Regions from separate parts of the Homo sapiens genome. Here region 2 is linked to region 1. The links are contacts of gene promoters, found by promoter capture Hi-C in human tissues and cell types (Jung and others, 2019). All regions are on one chromosome and are shown on one strand. The core of a region is centred on a gene start or on the middle of the fragment in contact, and the rest is flanking DNA. Distances in the headings are between cores, read along the strand shown.

Region 1 (2,890 bases), core at 233-2,732:
GGGAGGCTGGGCACGGTGGCTCACACCTGTAATCCCAACACTTTGGTAGGCCAAGGCGGGCAGATCACAAGGTCAAGAGATGGAGACCATCCTGGCCAACATGGTGAAACCCCGTCTCTACTAAAAATACAAAAATTAGCCGGGCCATGGTGGCGCGCGCCTGTAATCCCAGCTACTCGAGAGGCTGAGAAAGGAGAATTGCTTGAACCTGGGGGCGGAGGTTGCAGTGAGCCGAGATCACGCCACTGCACTCCAGCCTGGCAACAGCGCGAGTCTCCATCTCAAAAAAAAAAAAAAAAGAAAAGAAAAGAAAAGAAAAAAGAAAGATGTATGGGAACAGACACACAACTCTCCCTCCCAGATAAGCACAACGAAGAGACACAGAAGCAGTTCAAGCCTCTGATAAACTCTCCGACCCTGAATCCTTAAAAACTCTTAGTCTGTAAAAGAGTGTTACTCTGACCCAACTCCGCCAGAAGGCGCCTCTCAGGTTTGTTTTCTCTAAAATAAACCTGTCTTGACTGGCAAGCCACCTTTCGTGTTTCTTTCCTCTTTAATTCTTACAACTTTGTCACCCAGGCTGGAGTGCAGTGGCGCGATCTCGGTTCACTGCAACCTCGGCCTCCGGGTTGAAGCGATTCTCCTGTCTCAGCCTCCCGGTAGCTGAGATTACAAGTGCCCGCCACCACGCCCGGCTAATTTTTGGTAGACTCATGGTTTCTCCACGTTGCCCAAGCTGGTCTCGAACTCCTGGGCGCATGCGATCTGCCCGCCTCGGCCTCCCAAAGCGCCAGAATTACAGGCGTTTGAGCCACTGCGCTGGGAAACTGTGTTTATCATTCTGAGTCCAGCGGAATACAGTGCCCGTCCAAAAAAGTGCTCAATGAAGAATGAATGAATGAATGGGTAAGCTCTGGGAGAAATAACCAGGCTGGTTGGGCAGGGAAACGTCCTTCTCTGAACTTTAGGGTTCTCATCCGTAAAATGAGGATAAGCAACAGTCTCCATCTCACGGGAACTGAAGGTATGGCTGAACAAAATAGGCTTATTGTCACTACAGTGGCATAAACACCTCCCTTACTCAAAACACTTTCAAGGGCGCAGAGAGAACGCTGTACGAGTGAGCAGTACCGTAAACTGTTACTGCTCTGGGTTCTGTCACGGGACAGTGACTACTCCTCACTGAACTGTGGAAGAGGTGGCCCAAAAAACGCGAGAAGAAAAGAGAAAGTTTTTAGACGCAGAACGCGGCTCGCGGCCACCAGAAAGCGTCCTCCGCCTCCGCCCCCAGCGTCCCCGCGCCCCTGCGCGGCCGCACCTTCACCCGCTGCGCCTCGTTTATGCACTGCTGGTAGCTGCCGATGTAGAAGGCGTTCTTTACGTCGAACAGCTCGTCTACCTCCCCGGAGCCGCCGGAGGCCGGGCCGGGGGCCGGAGGCGCCATTTCGCTGTCTTCTCACCAGCTCCTCTTCCTGAAAGACACGTCAGCCGGAAGCAAGACACGGGCACGCTAGGAAATGTAGTTTACTTTTTCCGAGCGGCGGCGAAGTAAGCCAATGGGAAGCTCCACAATAATATGCAAGGGGGCGGAAGGCGTAAGTGCGTCACGGAGAGCATCTCGGGAATTGTAGTGTGTTTCTGCAAGCCAATGGGATCCGGGGAAACATGATAAGGATGCGGTCGAGGCTGGGAATAGGCTGAGGGAGCTGGAGAGGGTGGGACCACGCAGGAGGCAGATCCAATAAACAGGAAGATTTTTCTCGTGACGTCGTCGGCGCGCGCCGGAAGCGCGGATCACACGGGCCCCTACAAGGGGCCCCTACAAGCGGCCACAAGGATGGCAGGCTTCGCGGAGCTCGGGCTGTCATCGTGGCTCGTGGAACAATGTCGGCAGCTGGGTTTGAAGCAGCCCACGCCCGTGCAGCTCGGCTGCATCCCCGCCATCCTGGAGGGTGAGTATGGCCCAGGGCCTTCCCCAAGAGGCCTCTCCGCTCCTCTCGACTCCTTTCCCTTCTCGCAACCTTTGCTTATTCCGGTCCCACGAGGCGAGGGGCAACCTCGGGCGTTACAGGAGATCCGGGGTTCCGGAGGACGACTGGACAGTGTTGGCATTTAGGTTGCATGACTGACTCGCTTTGTGTTCGTACGCAAGTGATGTAATCTCTGAAATTTTCATAGTCTCAGCACAGGGAGGGTTTGATGGATGACTAGTCCGATAGTATCGCAAAATCCTGCAGACCTGGTACTGCTATCTTTATTTTACAAATAGAAGTTGAGGCTGTCAAAATTGCTGGTAGATCCAGGACTCCTTGGTCCTGTGATTGCTCCTCTAGGAGAAGGTCTTCTCTCTGCTCCTCTAGCCCAACCCAGTTTCGCCATTAAAGAGAGGCCCACAGGAAGCCTAAGATGTGATAAGTCAGGGATTAAATAAACAAATGAAGGGGTCAACAGGGAGCACAAGATGCATATGAGGGAAGGGAATTCTGGATTCCCCAAATTCACGTGCTCCTGGACGGAGTTAGAACGAGGTGGTAGGAAGCTGTGGGCATCTCGGGTCAAATGGATATGGGTTCCAGTCCAGCCTGCCACTCACTGGCAGTGTGTCCTGGGCAAGGTCTCTGAAACCCAGCTGTCCACACATGGAGGGTGTTGATGCTGCTTTGTCCCCAACCCAGGTCGAGACTGCTTGGGCTGTGCTAAGACAGGCAGTGGGAAGACAGCAGCGTTTGTCCTTCCCATCTTGCAGAAGCTGTCTGAGGATCCCTATGGCATCTTCTGCCTCGTCCTGACACCCACCAGGTAAGCCCCCAGCAGGCCTCCTGGGTATGGGTTAACCAGCTGTGCTCTCTTGGGCAAGCACCTTTCCCTCTCTGAGCGCCCTTTTCCCACG
Region 2 (2,890 bases), core at 174-2,673, 430 kb before region 1:
TACTGGACCTAGGAATTTTGAACGGAAGGCCTTCGAGAAACTGCCCTCTCACCAAACCTGCCTTCTGCCCATGGTCTGCGGTGCCAGATAACAACTGCTTTCCCCCAGACAACAGTGACCATGATCTGATCACATCTGACAATGGAAGAAGCTAAGGGACTGACCTAGGTCACTGGGGTCCTCCAGGGCACAGCATGGGCCTCTCCTAGCCCTGGGTTCCTGACGTTTCTGAGGTGAATGAGAACGCTCTAGGGCCTGACATGGGCCATCCCCTCATCAGAGCCCAGGCCAGGCCTCTGTGGGGGTTGGGTCCCTGAGAATGCAGCTCTGCCTTGCCACTGTGCTTCCTGCTCAGGCAGCTAGGAGGTCCCAAACCCCATTCACCTCCATGGGACTATTTGGAGCCCAGCAGAAGCGGCCCATGGGCTCTCCTCTCCCCAGGAGGCCCCTCCAGGCCTCCATCTCAACTCCCCTGCAGACAAGGCCATGTGTGTGCCTTCGACCTGTCAGTCTGTAGGGCCACCTCACTTTTGGGCCTTCCAAGCTCAACTGCTATTAGAGCGCCTCCTCTCTGCCACACTCCCAAGGCCACCCGTCCTCAGCCTCACCACAGAGCAGACTGGCCCCTTCTGCCGAGCCCCAGTGCACCCAAGCTTTCCAGCTGCCTCCACCTCTCCCCTGAAAACAGCTAACACTCCACTATGGGAGCCCATCTCCTCCCAGGGCCAGGGAGACCAGGGAGACCAGGGAGACCAGGTCTGGCCCCCAACTCTAAGGCTCATCTTAGAGGCGAGATTCAGGCCCAGCCCAGGGTGCCCCATGAGGCCTGGTGGTTGGAGGCAGAGGGTATCCCTTGCCCAAATTCGTGCCACATTCACAGTCACTGGGAAAGCTACGGGGATGGGCCGGGCGCGGTGGCTCACACCTGTAATCCCAGCACTTTGAGAGCCAAGACGAGCGGATCACGAGGTCAGGAGATTGAGACCATCCTGGTTAACACGGTGAAACCCCATCTCTACTAAAAATACAAAAAATTAGCCGGGCGTGGTAGCACACGCCTATAGTCCCAGCTATTTGGGAGGCTGAGGCAGGAGAATTGCTTGAACCCAGGAGGCAGAGGTGGCAGTGAGCCAAGATCACACCACTGCACTCCAGCCTGGGCGACAGAGCGAGACTCTGTCTCAAAAAAAAAAAAAAGAAAGCAAGCTACGGGGATGAAAACAGTTAAGGCACTCTCCTGGATGCATCACGAAGCCCCTCAGCCACTGTTTCTCCCTGAGAGCACAGCCACCCCCTGCTGACCTTGGCAGGAAGCAACAAGCCCCACAGCACAAACACCCCCAGGCTGCCCTGCAGAGGGGGCTCCACCTCGGGTGGGAGCCCTGCAACCTGGGAAGGAATCTGGGGAGGGGCTTCTGTGTGAAGCTTAGCTCAGGGCCCCAAGGGCGGTCAGTGTCAGGCACTGGCTCAACAGGGGCAGGAAGAGAGAGGCTGCTGAGCACCTCGTCCTCAGGCCACTCTGCCCCGTTTCTAACAGTCTATGTACAACAGACCCACCCAAGATGTACTCTGTGACCCAGAGTGGGGGTGCGGTCCTGGGAGTGTCCACTGTGGATGTGACCCAGGTCAGAAGGAGATGGCAGCTTGCCAAGCTACCAAGGCACACACTCAGGACCCAGGAGGACCGTCCTTCCTCCTCCGGTGGTCGGCCACACTCACCAAGGCTGCCCCTGAGGCCCTCAGAGACCCAGGCGGTTCTGAGAAGGGAGCCTGTCTCTGAAGCAGAAACCACGCCCTTTCACGGGGCCCCTGTGTCACGTCAGCCGCCTGGATGATTCACAGCTCCGCACCGGACTCGGCTCTTACCGCCTCATCTCATTGTCTGCTCACTGCAACCTCTGCAAAGCACCCAAACCCCTGTCCCAGAAGATAGGCAAAGATCACAGAAAAATAAGAGGATGCCAAGAGAATCTGGCACCCTTCAAGGCATGACCCGTGGTCCCCAGCCAGTACTCACTGCAAGGGTGCTCTTAGGTCCCCTTCCCAGTTTGAACCTGCAACCTGGGAGCTGCCACATCTGGACCTCAGGGATGTGACCTTGCCAGCCACAAAGGTTGGCATCGGGTCCTGCCTGCCACCTCACCCACATGCGCCTCTGCAGCCAACCAAAGCCTTCCAAGATGCTGGCCTCCACCGTCAGCTACATGCCATGCTGACACCTCCGATGCTTCCACCACCACGCAGTGGGTAAATCCTAATCACTCAGGAACACAAAGAAGGCCCTGTGCGTGTAGACCCTGCTGCTCAGACCCCGCTACCCCCCACCAGGAGACCCCCTGAGAAAGGAGTAACTGCTTCTGAGCCATTGCCCATATGGGCTGGCATTCCCCATAAAAACCCATTGAGGGCTCCAGAGGCTTCTGGGAACATCTGGACAATCCAACCACCCCAGAGAGTAGGGTCACCCCTCAAATGGGCAGGCCCAGTGAGGACAGAGCAAGCGTTACATATGTGTCCTGAGGTGGGCATCAAGGAGGTGCCACGAGAGCCAGGCCCCAGTCTTCCTTCGTGCTTGAGGAGCAGCTGGGTTTGGGGGACAGTTGCCCTCAGCATGGCCATAAACCACCTTGAGTGCTTAGGATGCGCACAGATCCCTGAATGTGCTGTCTCAGGAAAATCCTCCACCTTGCTGGGTCTGACAGAGGCAGCTGCATGAAACCAGCCCACTTTTAACTTTAGAGACAGAACCTGATGTGGCCACGGCCAGGCTGCACTAGCCCCTCAGGGAGGCCCCAGGCCAGATAAGCACTGCCTGCATCTTCCACTGAGGAACATCTCTGGGACGAGGACCCGTGCAGCTGCCTGATGCTCAGGTTCATCACCAACAGCA

What was found. The method cuts DNA at HindIII sites, captures the fragments that hold promoters and counts their contacts. A contact is called where the count stands out against the background at its distance.
Region 2: a fragment that was not itself captured here is called in contact with the fragment with the promoter of COPE in region 1 in 1 of the 25 tissues and cell types used here (lymphoblastoid cells).

The regions. Positions count from the first base shown.
Region 1 is chr19:18,917,905-18,920,794 of GRCh38, forward strand. It overlaps COPE (coat protein complex I subunit epsilon), which reads right to left and starts at 1,483. Exons shown (of 10, transcript NM_007263.4): 1 at 1,319-1,483. The coding sequence starts at 1,444. It overlaps DDX49 (DEAD-box helicase 49), which reads left to right and starts at 1,811. Exons shown (of 13, transcript NM_019070.5): 1 at 1,811-1,952; 2 at 2,676-2,799. The coding sequence starts at 1,838. RefSeq lists enhancers at 1-583, 1,486-2,085 and a silencer at 1,216-1,405. The HindIII fragment of the contact is 15,077 bases long and covers 576-2,890 here.
Region 2 is chr19:18,484,803-18,487,692 of GRCh38, forward strand. The region is part of intron 1 of ELL (elongation factor for RNA polymerase II); the gene reads right to left. Among named protein-coding and RNA genes, the nearest start is that of ELL, 36 kb to the right of the region's middle. RefSeq lists an enhancer at 665-1,250. The HindIII fragment of the contact is 6,018 bases long and covers 1-2,890 here.